Regions from separate parts of the Homo sapiens genome. Here all the other regions are linked to region 3. Evidence: promoter capture Hi-C in 16 types of primary human blood cells and fetal thymus (Javierre and others, 2016). All regions are on one chromosome and are shown on one strand. Each heading gives the region's core, a stretch centred on a gene start or on the middle of the fragment in contact. The rest is flanking DNA. Distances are from core to core; before and after follow the strand shown. Region 1 overlaps CILK1 (ciliogenesis associated kinase 1). Region 2 overlaps CILK1 (ciliogenesis associated kinase 1). Region 3 holds the start of EFHC1 (EF-hand domain containing 1). Region 4 overlaps GSTA4 (glutathione S-transferase alpha 4). Region 5 overlaps FBXO9 (F-box protein 9).

Evidence for each region. The method cuts DNA at HindIII sites, captures the fragments that hold promoters and counts their contacts. A CHiCAGO score of 5 or more calls a contact.
Region 1: a fragment that was not itself captured here is called in contact with the fragment with the promoter of EFHC1 in region 3 in 1 of 17 cell types (naive CD8 T cells); the score reaches 6.2 in naive CD8 T cells.
Region 2: a contact is called between a fragment that was not itself captured here and the fragment with the promoter of EFHC1 in region 3, in 6 of 17 cell types (total CD8 T cells, naive CD8 T cells, naive CD4 T cells and 3 more). The highest score is 6.4, in total CD8 T cells.
Region 4: a contact is called between a fragment that was not itself captured here and the fragment with the promoter of EFHC1 in region 3, in 2 of 17 cell types (naive CD4 T cells and total B cells). The highest score is 6.5, in naive CD4 T cells.
Region 5: a fragment that was not itself captured here is called in contact with the fragment with the promoter of EFHC1 in region 3 in 2 of 17 cell types (total CD8 T cells and erythroblasts); the score reaches 6.7 in total CD8 T cells.

The regions. Positions count from the first base shown.
Region 1 is chr6:53,002,524-53,005,223 of GRCh38, reverse strand. It overlaps CILK1 (ciliogenesis associated kinase 1), which reads left to right. Exons shown (of 14, transcript NM_014920.5): 14 at 1-2,700. The coding sequence ends at 75. Among named protein-coding and RNA genes, the nearest start is that of RN7SK, 8.3 kb to the right of the region's middle. The HindIII fragment of the contact is 1,267 bases long and covers 802-2,068 here.
Region 2 is chr6:53,052,923-53,055,622 of GRCh38, reverse strand. All of the region lies in intron 1 of CILK1 (ciliogenesis associated kinase 1), which reads left to right. Among named protein-coding and RNA genes, the nearest start is that of CILK1, 7.6 kb to the left of the region's middle. The HindIII fragment of the contact is 1,175 bases long and covers 823-1,997 here.
Region 3 is chr6:52,418,985-52,421,684 of GRCh38, reverse strand. EFHC1 (EF-hand domain containing 1) reads right to left here and starts at 1,343. Exons shown (of 11, transcript NM_018100.4): 1 at 1,212-1,343. The coding sequence starts at 1,274. It overlaps LOC124901331 (a long non-coding RNA gene), which reads left to right and starts at 704. Exons shown (of 2, transcript XR_007059611.1): 1 at 704-1,476. RefSeq lists an enhancer at 783-1,374. The HindIII fragment of the contact is 6,560 bases long and covers 1-2,700 here.
Region 4 is chr6:52,980,596-52,983,295 of GRCh38, reverse strand. It overlaps GSTA4 (glutathione S-transferase alpha 4), which reads left to right. Exons shown (of 7, transcript NM_001512.4): 6 at 591-722. Among named protein-coding and RNA genes, the nearest start is that of GSTA4, 13 kb to the left of the region's middle. The HindIII fragment of the contact is 1,300 bases long and covers 616-1,915 here.
Region 5 is chr6:53,080,473-53,083,172 of GRCh38, reverse strand. FBXO9 (F-box protein 9) reads right to left here. Exons shown (of 13, transcript NM_033480.3): 6 at 2,075-2,205; 7 at 555-669. Among named protein-coding and RNA genes, the nearest start is that of FBXO9, 16 kb to the right of the region's middle. The HindIII fragment of the contact is 1,868 bases long and covers 449-2,316 here.

The DNA.
Region 1 (2,700 bases), core at 186-2,685, 580 kb before region 3:
ATACCACGGCCTCCAGCCGCCCAGCCAGTGCATGGCCGGACAGACTGGGCTTCCAAGTACGCATCTCGGCGATGACTGTCTGCCTTGGTGATGAATCTCTTCCTAGGGAGAAGCAGGATACTTTCCCTCAGCTGACTGGTGTTCTACCTGCAAGATGTGCAGAGGGCATAAAAGCAAATCAACACTTTATAGTTATTCTTCTGAACTAAGACATGTCAATATTCTTTTTTAAAGTTTTTTTTTAAAATATTGATTTGAATGCAGTAGGCTTTTTTGTATAAAATTATTTTATTCTAAAACTGGGTCCCATTATTTTCTTAAACAACAGCATTTTGTATATATGGATTATGTTTTAGCATTTTATACAGTCAACTTTGTAATGAACTTTTTAAAAATTAATTGATTTTCCTTTGGGGTTCCAGATAATATTTTCTACAGATTTTGAAAAATGTAATAATATTAATGCAGTATTGCAACAGGGGTGCAATTTAAGGCTATGTGATAGAGGGTTATTTACTCAGTGTGTGCAGATATTTATGAAGTGGTGAAATTTCAAGTGTGGCTCACTAGGTACTTCAGGCCTTCTTGGACTGTTGTTAGAAAAGTGATCCTCTGCTTTTCTTAGTAGGTCATTGGTTTGATTTTTGGATACCACTCTGCTGTTCTAAAAGGACTATTATATTATATAATTCACTTTGTTTTACTTTTGTTCCCCAGATGAAAGAACTCTAAGTAAATACATTTTAAAAAATTTTTCTGACACCCTTTAATGTGGTTGCAGATCTCAGATGAAACCAAGCTTAATTATACTATGCCATTATATTCTAATTTATTCCATTTTTGAAATCAAGTTGTATGTGTACCAATAAAAGAGATTTCTGCTTCAAAAGGCTCTCAACATGAAGGTTAACACAGTCAATCAAACTTACATTCCTGCCAAGATGCATGGCCAAAAAACTAAGTATCAAAGCAGCAGAAGGTTTTTGATTATAGTAACTGAGATGGAATTTTGTGCCTAGCTCAGTTCTCCAGATCTGGCTAGGAGCAGTCAATGACTAATGTTCTGTCCTAGCCAAATTCTCAGGACAATTTGGGGAGCAGAAAGAGTTATGGCAGAGGTTCCACTCATCTACAAAGTCACAGTCACATGCCACATTTGATCTCCTAACCCTGGTGTAGTTTCTTTCAAGAGTGAGAACTTTATTTGTTGGGCAGAGGCTGTTCCATTGAGAGGAATGTTTACAGCAGTTTCAAAAATGACAAAGTCAGTTTGGAGACAGAAAAAGACAAAAGGTCCAGTCTCATCCATCTCTATATGGTACATTTGCCTCACTTATGGTTGCCTTAAAGGCAAGAGGGAAGGTCACCATCAGTGAACGCAATGCAATCTCAACAGTGTATTGATTCATATTCTCCTAGGGCTCAAACTACTCTCTATTGGTTCCAGGATAATGACAAATTGAACCATATGTAAGTAATCTTTTATTTTTTATTTTTTTTTTGAGACAGAGTCTCACTCTGTCACCCAGGCTGGAGTGCAGTGGCGCGATCTTAGCTCTCTGCAACCTCTGCCTCCCAGGTTCAAGCCTCCTGAGTAACTGGGACTACAGGCGCCCGCCACCACGCCCAGCTAATTTTTTGTATTTTTAGTAGAGACGGGGTTTCACTGTGTTAGCCAGGACGGCCTCGATCTCCTGACCTCGTGATCCACCCTCCTCCACCTCCCAAAGTACTGGGATTACAGGCATGAGCCACTGCACCCAGCCAAGTGATCATTTTTATAGGTTAAAATGATAGGTGAAATGAATATAGACACTTTCATATGGTTCAACCTAATGACTTGGTAAATTATTGCCTTGGTGTATTAATAATATGTTGCATTCTGAACAAATAACCATGGCTTCCAAAGGGCCCTAACCTAAAATCGGAGAGTAATTTATGCTTTGGAGAATTTGACTCAAATATATACTTGACCAAGCACCATGATCCCTAGGGGCATGAGAAAAGCACATAATGGATGTGGATGTGATAGGTGGTCTTTTCCTGTTAACAAGCTGGCAGCAAAGCTTCAGAAAATATATATGCAAGCACAACTTGAAGCTGAATTCATTTCTGTATTATATTCTCAACTCGTTATCTAAAGCATCAGAACATGTGTTTTCAGAGATGAGTCCTTTACTATAAGGTTAATATTTATTTTCATTTTCTGTATTATATATGAAAAGTAAATTAATGTGAAACCTGGCCCAGCTTGCTGGAAAGCAGGTTTTAAATTGTAAATATTCCTTAGAGGAGCAAATGGATTGTTTAATACCATAGTCTCAGTAATCTAGCTTATATAAGGTCATTACATTTTTTAACTGAAAAACCTAGTTACCTGATTATTGCACATTATAAAATTGTTTTTCTAATACTTTATAGGGCCCAACTTCAGAAAATACTTCGCTTTTTTCTTTTTATGCTTTCGTTTGTTTACCAGCAAGCAACTTCCCTGGGGAAGCCAAACACATATTCATAAAAAAAATCAAGTAGCTGATGTGCAGTTGAGAAAACTAGAGGACTGAAAAAACAAATTTTAACTAGCAAATGCTGTGAATTACTCTTCCTCCCCTTCTCTGAAATGGGTAAAGGACAAATTGTGTAAAAAAACCTATGCACTATAGAAGGGAATAGTAACCATTTCTTTTGTCTCTCTGTTTC
Region 2 (2,700 bases), core at 161-2,660, 630 kb before region 3:
GAAGAAGTTTCTGGGGCACAGAAGAAGGCACATCATGTAACGGATTATCTTCTCTTGTTAACATCCAGTTGATGCAATAGCTGAATGCATCTTTAATTCACTCCTCTGTCAAGGTAAAGACAAAGCAAGATCCATGTAAAGAAGGTCCTTTTGGCTTTGTAACTGCTATTCCTTATGCAGAAAAAAAGCAGTAGTCCAAGAGGCAAAATGCTTAAAAGGTTTGCTTGCTAAAATGTACAGAGGCAGAAGAATTAGGTCCAGGAGAAAAACATAAACCCGGATATACTATTTCTAGTACCTTTTTAAAAGAAATTAACAGTATTCACTGACTTTTGTAAAGTTAGGACACATTCAAACCTAGAATACGAAGTCTAATTATAAACCTGTAAAGGTAAAATGGAACTCAGAATTACCATGAGAAGGGTCATCTAATGATTTTGCATATAATCCACTTTTCCTAGGAGGATAAATGAAAGTAACAGAATCTTTTCAATGTAAGATAATTAATGCAAAGGGAGACAAGCTCCTTCTAAGGAACTGAATGGTGTCAGTGGGCCTGGTAAACCACAACTCCCAGAGAACCCCAAGTTTGCTGTAACTTTTTGTCTCCTGTCTTAGAAAATGTGTAATGATGGCATTAATTCATTGATTAAGGTTTCAAAATAAAGAATGAACTACAATTTTCCCTGCCCCTCGCCTCCATTTTTTAGGCTGTGAATGAGCAAGGCACCTGATGTGAGCTGCTGGCCATGAGCAAATGTTCTTTGCCTCCACCGAGGATTGACGCTGAGGGGAGGGAATTGGGGCAAATCACAGGAAGCTTTTCCCCAATGTCACCTAGCCAGGAACATCATAACATTGACTTCAAAGGTTTGCTGGAACTCTTTGAAAGAGAGATAAAGCTGTCTTTCTTTGGTAGTTGAGTACAGCCTTACCCAAAGGCCAAAGGCCTGATCTGACCGCATGGAGGGGGACTTTCTGTGATCCTCTGAGACTCAGTCATCTTGGCATTGTTGTGGGAGGGCCCAGGCTGCCTGCCTGCCCCAGCTATTCTGTGGTATTCACTGTTCTTCCACTTCAGAACTTCAGAACTTTTAGTTGGGCCCAACAGTTTATCTTTGTTTTGTGTATGACAAAATAGAAGCACTGAGAATTTTGAGGTACTTAGCCAAGGTGGTACAGAAAATAATAGCAAAGACTAAAACTCACATTTGGGCCCTTCAAACAATCTTTGAGGACTTGCTACTGCAAGTGGAGTGAGAAGACAAAGATGAAGCAGTCTTGGAGAGTGTCGAGGCTGAAGCAGAGGGTACACCTGCAGGTCATTGCCACGGGGAAGGGGCTGGCAGTGAGGTGAGGACAAGGCACTATGGCATCAAGGGAGAGGACCATTCTCGGGTCTATATGTGTAGGTTGGGGCAGGAGGCTTGGAAGAGGTGACATGTGAGCTCGAAAGAGAAGGAATCGATGTTTAATGTTTACTGGGGCCTGGCTGAGGCACTGGGGCACTTGTGCATCTCTTGAAAGAAAGGTGTGTAGCATACAGGGTCCTTCGGTGGCACTGTCTTCTCCGCTAACCTTTGTTCATGTGATGCAAAAAGCAGAAACATTTATCCTTTTTTTTTTCTTAGACAAATGCTAGCTCAATTCCTGATACAGAGTCACAGAATCACACAGCTTTAGAGGAAGAAACCACCTTAGAGCAAGTCCCATGCCCTAATTCCACCAAAAGTAAACTCAAGGACCAAGAGATGCCCCGAGGCACAGCAGATCAGTGCTGAGTGGAAACTGGAACCAGTCCCTCACTTTGCCTCCACTGTGGGCATGTTGGTGCTGCCAATGGCTCCAGAGGATTCGCTGATATTTGATTGCAGAATGAAGACAATTAGAACATAGCCATATCATTCATTTTCATATTTGGGCTTTGAGATACAAAGTACTACTTCTGTTCCTGTCATTTTCAGATCCTCCAAAGATTTCATGATCTTTTGAAAGCTTTCCCTTAAGTTTGGTACAGTCAGCCTGGGTTCCTGTCTCATTTCTGCCACATTAGTCGTATAATCTAGACATGTAACTTGTGTCTCAGTTTCCTTCTCTGTAAAATAGGGATAATTGTAATAGTACCTGCCTGGTAGAATTATGAGGGTTAAATGTACTAATATATGCATAAGCACTTATAATAGTACTATGCACATACTAAGTACTAAAATTATCATGTTTTGGGCATATTTGATATATGAGGGTGCTAAGTGTAGATTCGTTGTAGTGAATGATTTATCCAAGTTAATTCTTGGAGTCAAAGCAGAATTTAGAAATACTGCGAGTTAGAAATACATGCTAATTCTCAAGGTAATGGACAGGCTGCTACATTCCATTCACTTCTCAAGCAGTGTTAACTATCTGTACCAGAAGCTGAATTTAAATGCTGTCAGGGCAGAGGAGGAAAATAAAAGACTCAAGGAAGCTGGGTGTGTGCTTGTCAAACAGTAAGAAATTGCTCTTCTCTTCTAAAAAAGAACAATTTTTCTTCTCTTCCAATTTTTCTTTAAGTATAAGGTTTTTTTTTTTTTCAGGCTTTTACTTTGTCACTTTTGTTATAGGCATAGGAACAGAGAAATATTTTTCATCCAGTAAAACAAGTGGCTATGAAGGCACACAAAAAAATGACAGCTAAAAAAAAAAAATGGCAAGTGGCAACAG
Region 3 (2,700 bases), core at 94-2,593:
ATTTCATTCTAAATTGATTCTTCCAAAGAAAATAAATTGACAAAATATTTTAACTTTGTGAAGCTGGAGAGGAAGGCAAGAGTTTAAAGTATTAAACTATATAAACATAAACTACTGTTAGCTCATCTATGATGATCAGTCTACTGAATCTCATTATTGATTTTTCAGCACATACATTTCAGTAGCCCTGTCAGAATTAAAACAAACCAAATAATTTTAAGAGCTAAACTGTGGCAAGAGTTTAAAAAAAAAAAAGAATCCAAGCTGCTGCTACTTTTTAAAAAATTTTGTCTAGAAAATGCAAATAAAAACACAAGGTTGGGGAAGGAGCAAAACAAAATCTAAACAGGAATCTTTTTACAAAAACGTTAGAATAAAAAGAACAGGGCCGGGGAAGAATAAACAGCAACTAATCAATTCTTGAGGGAACTGGAAAGGAATATCTCTTACAAAGCAGGGAAAGATGCTTTGGGAGGAAGGTGAGCAAGTTTTGGGGAAAACCCGCAACGGAGAAAGAAAGGAATGGGGAGAGGATGGGACTAAATTGTGGAAAATGTAGAAGATGGAGAAAAAAGAATGGGGTTGGATGCAAGCATAAAGAAGAAAGGAAAAAGACCTGGCGGAAAGAAGAGGAGCGGAATCGATATACATACAAAACAGGAAATGGAGCTGGGAGTGGGAGATACTACCGGGTACAGGATTCAGAAGAGGAAGAGGTGGGGCGGGAATGACGGACCTGTGGGAATGAGGTTGAAGGTGCATAGTGGCGGGGGGTTTTAAGGGCGGCGATGGACGGAGACAGGTTATGATGTGAGAGAACGAGCTAGGGAGAGGGCCCAGAGATAGGTTGGGAGTAGGGTGGGGGAAACAGTGATCTAAAGGGACAAGAGGCAGGGGCTTGGAGGAGCAGGGCCGTAAGAAAGAACGCGGCTAACGGGATGAGAATGAAGGCGCCAACACACTGCCAAGATGGAGTGGGAAAAAACTAGAGAGGGATGAGGCGGAGGGCAAAGGATCGGAGAGAGGGGATGAGGATGGCTAGGGAAGAACGGCAGAAGTTCGGCCCAGAATAAAGAACAGGGTCAGGACAGAAGACGTGTTTGGAGAGAAGACAGACTTGAGTGGAGGGGAATGGAGGTGCACTGAGCGGGGAAACCTCCTGGGCTGCTGGAAGGTGGGGACAGGTGGGAGTCTGGCAGATAACTGCTCACCGTAGAGTCCTTAAAGGACGTGCCCGGAAGAAAGGGCAAGCCATGCACGGGATTGGACACCATTGCAGCCGGTACCACCGCCGCCACCTAGGTCCTGCTTCGTCCTCTCCGGTTGCCCAGGCGACAAGCAGTGTTCGCGGGCACCTCCAGGATCCATGGTAACGCTAAACATCCGGAACTCCCACGAGCGGAAGGCGGGGCCAGGAGGCGCAGGCATCACAGGAGGTTTGCGCGTGCGCCATCCGCAGGACTCCGCGTTCTCGCGGTAAGTGGGCCGCGGCCTTGGAGCGCGGCTAGTGGGCGTGGTTGTGTCGGCCCCTCCTCTTCCGCTTCGCCCCGCCCCGCTCCCGGAGGATGAGACGTGGGAGCTGTTGGGTGGCGCGGGGAAAGGCGGGTGTAGCGAGGCGGTAGTTCTCGCTGTGAGATCCGGGGTCCGAGCAGGCCCTTAGATGAGTTGCAGAGAGGGACGTTCCTTCTCTCCTTCCACCTAGTCCTGGCGGACCTCACTGCGCCCCGCCAACGCTGTGAGCTCAGGCACTCTTTTCTCCCCCCTCTGCCCCATTTCACACAGAAGTGTAAATGGTCGGTCCAGTTGGCAGTGCTACTAAACTAGACCCATGCTTCTTGTAGGCAGGGGCCGAGGATTACCCATGATTGTGTTTCTGTTGCTCAGGGATGGTCAATGAACTAATGCAATCATCTCATCCTTAATTCTCCCACTGCCACATTGTATTTTTCCCCTTTTAACTCTTTTTTAAAATCAATCTTTCTCTTTCTTTCTTTCCTTTCTTTCTTTCCTTTCTTTTCTTTTTCCTTCCTTCCTTCCCTCCTTCCCTCCGTCCCTCCTTCCCTCCTTGCTTCCTTCCTTCCTTCCCTACTTCCCTCCTTCCGTAGAGATAGTGTCCCACTATGTTGCCCAAGCTGGTCTCGAATTCCTGGGGTCAAGCGATCCGCCCACCTCGCCTCCCAAAGTGCTGGGATTACAGGCATGAGCCACCGCGCCCAGCTCTCTTTATTCTACCATCAATCCCTTCGGTTAAACACCTTTGTTTTTGTAGGGAAAGCCTTGAATATGTGCTGCAGGGCAGGGTGCACTCTGATAGGTACTTGATTTTTGTTGACTGAAGAGCTGCAGGTTGAAGGGTGGTCACCTCAATCCCTCGTTTGTACCTGCAGCTGCAATGAAAAAGATCAGAACCACTAGGAGGAACACAGCTCCTTCAAAGAGAAAGACTAAGTCTTGGGAAAGAAGCAGATAAGTGAGGTGAAATATTGTCAGCATCATAGGTATAGCCTTTGATGCTTTTTACAAAACTTGCTTAAATTATTTTTTCTTAAAAGAAACATAATCCTATTCCTGAAACATTTTTTTTGGGGGGGGGGGGAGAAAGCTATCCATCATTGCTGAGGAGCTTAAAAATAAAAAGTAATCAAAACCCACGTGCCGAGAGATTTGGATTCATTAGGTCTGACATGGAGGCCAGGAATC
Region 4 (2,700 bases), core at 16-2,515, 560 kb before region 3:
CGTTACCCTCAGAATGGGAGTCAAGATGAACTCAAGCTTTTCATTTTCTCTGTTTTGGGACATGTAAGAGGAAGTCTAATTTTATAATTGGGTTGAGTTTATGACTACACCTCTTGATGTTCTAGCAGCAGAACTGGGAAATAAGAGTGGGCCCCTTGAAGATGATCTATCACTTAGATTTCTTAAATCACCCTGCCCCTCCCCAAGCCTCCTGCATGCATTTCTGTAGATACATTTTTGGAGTAGATATATCCTTTCAAAACACCAGATGCTAAATCCAGAAATAAGGAATTTTCCCTTCCCCACTTCAATGTCTCATTCAGATCCACAGCAGATATTTAAGGATGCTTTCATTTCCACACCTTTTTTGTACTTTCTCTCTCTCTCTCTCGCTCTCTCTCTCTCTCTCTCCCCCTCTCTCTCACTCTCTCTGTCAGATATAGGGTGCGTTCTCTTAATTGATGTTATTTATGAAAGCATGAAATGACAAGGTCATAGTTTCACCTCTTCTCAGATACTGCACTGATTCAATAGCCTCATCACTCTCTCCATGTGGAATATTGTAACTGATGCACACCATTTCCCTACAGATTTTAAGGGGTCACGGACAAAGCTTTCTTGTTGGTAATCAGCTGAGCCTTGCAGATGTGATTTTACTCCAAACCATTTTAGCTCTAGAAGAGAAAATTCCTAATATCCTGTCTGCATTTCCTTTCCTCCAGGTAAATAAAACTATGTATTAGAAGATTGGCCTAGAACTCTTGGGCCTTCCTTCAGTGTCTATTGTTTGGTTGGCTTTGGGGAGTGTGTGTGTGTGTGTATGTGTAATATTTTTAAGATTCTAGTTTGGCAAATGAAATGAAAGTAAGGACCCAAAGTTATTTTTCTGGTCCTTAAATCCTTCAAGTTGAAAGATCATTGAAGTGTAAAATTTTTTTTTTTTAAGGTGGGATCTTACTATGTTGCCCAGAATGGTCTTGAACTCCTGGGCTCAAGAGATCCTCCCACCTCAGTCTCCTGAGTAGCAGGGACTATAGGCATGTGCCAGCACACCCAGCTCAGAAATTTTCATCTTAATTTTGTTCCATAACTGCACTCCTGGAAAAAACTCCATGCACAGGGAGTTTGCCTCAGGGGACTTTCCATAGAAATAACCATAGAGATGAGGTGGTCTCACACTCACATGTATCTACTGATGGAATAGTGGGCGAGATAAACATCAAAACAGTCTCATTCATCAGGCTATGACTCCCTTTCTCAGAAATAGTATGGTCTCAAGTTAGGAAATTCTAAGCCTGAGCTCTGAGAGCAAATGAGAGATGTTAGCACCCTAAACATCACCCCAAAGGATTCCTACCATTCTCCTTCTGAGAATTCCAAGGAAAGACTTGTGTGGTTCAAATTATCCCTCAGGGTTATTCTGGCAGGATTGATCATAGAACTTTAAAGGAGAGAAGGGCCTTTAAAAAAAAACTCATTTAATGACTTCAATATTCACTTGAGGAAGTAGAGACCCAGAATAAAGAAATCAGCAGCCAAGCTGGCTTAGGCAGTGGATGCTTGAGTTTTATCTAGAACCTTAGCCTTTTATCTCCAAGTCTAATGTGCAGACTGTAACTCCTGGGCCAAACCTGGCCTGCCACCTGTTTTTATACAGCTTGTGAGTTAAGAATAATTTTTACATTTTTAAATGGTTGAAAAAAATCTGTGGAATAATATTTCATGACACATAAAAATTATATGAAATTCAAATTCTAGTATTCATAAATTTCATTGGTACAAAGCCATGCCCACTCATTTACACAATGTCAAGGTTACTTTTGTTTTTCTACAGCAGAGTTGAGTAGATCTGATAGAGACCATATGGCCTGCAGAACTTAAAATATTTGCTGACTGGTCCTTTATGGAAAAAGCTTGCCAATCCCTGAAACAGCCTGGATACAGACCAAATTGCTATATGTTTGACCAAGTTATCAAAAGCCAAGAGAGATACACTAACTCTCCAAAGAGTAACACACATACTTAAAACAATTTTTTGCCAAGTCTATTAAATATTTTGATATACTAATGAGAGCAATTACCACCAGTTCAATAAGTACACCCAGAAAATGAGAATAAAAATCTTCAACAAGGCAATAAACCACCATATCATTTATGTTATAGTTTATATTTTTTTTTCAATTTTTTTTTCATTTACTTTTGCAGACACAGAGATTGACTTTCCTTAATTTGATTTTATTCATTCAGAACTTAGGATACTTTTCACCTGAAGTATTCTTTTGCACTGTTAAAAAAGTTACTTGTTTAGCAGAGAAGGGAAATTAGAGGAAGGGATCTGCAACTTGTTGAGTGCCAGCTTCATTCCAGTCAGTCTGCTAGGCACTTACATGCATTTGCTCATCTGTCCCGTCAACCCCACCCCAATAACCCTAGGAGATGGGCTTCACTATCTCCATTTTACAGATGAAAATTACCAGCTTGGAAACATTACATTCTGCATAGTTGCAAGACTGTGGATGACTGAGTTGGGAGCCACAGGGGAGTCAGGGATCTAAGTCTGTACTCTTTCCACTAGACTGTGTGGTTTCTGAGAAACACATTTAGAAGTACTAGAAGTACCTTTGGCCCCAAATAGGTGGGATGCTGAACCCAGAAGTAGGTAGAATGCTAAGCTTATTAAAGGTGAAATCTAGGCCGGGC
Region 5 (2,700 bases), core at 133-2,632, 660 kb before region 3:
AGGTTTTACATTTAAGTCTTTAATCCATCTTGATTTGATTTTTGTGTGTCGTGTAAGGAAAGGATCCAGTTTCCATCTTCTGCACATGGCTAGCCGCTTATCTCAGCACCATTTATTGAATAGAGTCCTTTCCCACACATAGCAAAATTTTCAAAATATAGAATAACTTTTAATGAGCCATAAGAAAATGCTAGTGCTGTTTTAATCTAAACCATTACCACAATGAGTTTACAGTTAGTGTAAAAATGACTTGAATATATTTTTCTAATATAACTCTTTTTCCCAAATCAGTTAAGCTAGCATGTAAACTCTATGGTAGTAGTATGGGTTACTACATCTGTCCTACATATTATTCTATACCCTAGAAACCTAGCATATTCTAGCCTTTAAATTCTAAGTTATTTGAGAAAGTTAAGTACAGCTTAGCAAAACTTGTTTATTCTAAGCTTTAACTCAGAACACCAATCAAGTAATTTTATCAGGATTGGCAAAGGACCATCTTTCTTTTCACCATTGCCTCAGTTGTTTAAAAAACAAAAACAAAAACTTAGTACCTGGCACAGATGTAGAATCCTCTGCACACCAGCGACAACTGCTCCAATGATCTGAGGTCCAAGTCACTAGACACCACCCATCGGAAGATGTACATCAGGACCTCCATTGGCAGCACTGCAAAAGAAAATCATCCTTCAGTGACTCTCCTCTATGTCATTCTATTGTCACAACTACATTCCCAGTACATTTATACCTTCCTAGAAATTTATAATCACACCCTCTGTATTGCTCAGAGCTAAAGCATGAATGTATTTAGCTACTCAATAATAATAATGGTTCTTAACATCAAGACATAAATATCTTTGTTTTTTCAGTATAGATCTGAAGCTACTTTTTATAAAGCACTCTTTTCCCTCATAAGATTATTTTGCCAGACATATTAAAATAAATGTTTTAGGAAAATAATCTATGTGTGTGTGATCCATATTGCATCTATTAACACTAAAGTTATTTTCATCTCCTTGAAAACTTTTAATTGTCCTCCTCTGAAAAAGCCCCGAACCAAACAATATTTAACATATTAAAAATACATGAATTTCTTTTTTTTTTGTGACAGGTTCTTGCTCTGTTGCCCAGGCTGGAGTGCAGTGATACAATCTCAGCTCACTGCAGCCTCTGCCTCCTGGGTTCAAGTAATTCTCGTGCCTCAGCCTCCCAAGTAGGTGGGACTACAGTCATGCGCCACGACGCCCAGCTAATTTTTGTATTTTTAGTAGAGGTGGGGTTTCACCATGTTGGCCAGGCTTATCTTGAACTCCTGGCCTCAAGTGATCCTCCCAACTCAGCCTCCCAAAATGCTGAGATTGCAGGCGTGAGCCACCATGCCCGAACAAAAATCCATTAATTCCTAAACATTCAGTCTGTCTCAGGACAATTGTCCAACATGGCTGAAATGCTTCATGATACCAGTATTCCTCCAGTTTTCTTAGGGCTACCTCAACAACTCAGACTTACCCTGTTAGATCTTTACTGAAAAAGGTATGGCATCCTTAAACAACAGCACTACAAACTGTTCTGCTTCAGATTGTAAAGCAGCTTACTACTGGGCTGGGCGCAGTGCCTCAGAGGCCTGTAATCCCAGCACTTTGGGAGGCCAAGGTGGGCAGATCATGAAGTCAGGAGTTCGAGACCAGCCTGGCCAACATGGTGAAACTCTGTCTTTACTGAAGATACAAAAATTTAGCTGGGTGTGGTGGCACACGCCTGTAATCCCAGCCACTTGGGAGGCTGAGGCAGCAGAATTGCTTGAACCCAGGAGGCAGAGGTTGCAGTGAGCCGAGATTGCACCACTGCACTCCAGCCTGGGTGACAGGGCACGTCTCCATTTCAAAAAACAAAACAAGACAAAACAAAACACAAAACAGCTTAATAGTATATGCAAATGATAATTATAACTAGATCTTCCACCATATTCTGAACTAAAGCAGCAGTTATCTGGCAAATTATCTGACCTTATAAATTTGGAAATCTTTAAGGTTAAGATATTTCTCACTGAGTTATGAAAAACAAGTATTCACACCTGATATGTGAATCTGACTGCTCTCAAGCTCAGGCTGACACAGTTTAAGCACAGACTCCTGAAATGTGAGTTGCTGCTGGAAGTAGGACAAGAGATCTGCCATTTTGCTGTCATCATCATTATCTTCAATGCTGAAAAAAGGGAGGTGAATAAATTAAGTGCCTCAGTCTACAAGCGTACAGTTTAGAAACTGATTTTTCATAGCATTTTCAAATTTGCTTTACAAAAAGTCACCTAAAGCTTATTCAACATGTGATACATTTTTAAATGTGATGAATTTATCCTGTCTTGCAAAGGAATACTGTATCAAGTTTTTCAAAGAAAAAAGCTTCAGTAATTATCATCCAGAAAGAATTAGAATTTTTGGATACAGGTGTTGAGATTTAACTAATTTTATTGTAAAGTAGAGATTTTATGAGTTACTGCAAGCTTTCAAATGGTTTCAAAAATCTTAACGTAGTATGTTCTTTAACCTTAATTTATTCTAACTGGATAAAAACCAAATCTACAGACGTCATCTGAGGTACTTACTTACCAAGGGTTTTCTAACAGATTTGCCTTATCAGCCTACCTTTAGAGAGGAAAATACCTACTTTGAAAACATCTTAGGGTTCACAAATCATCTA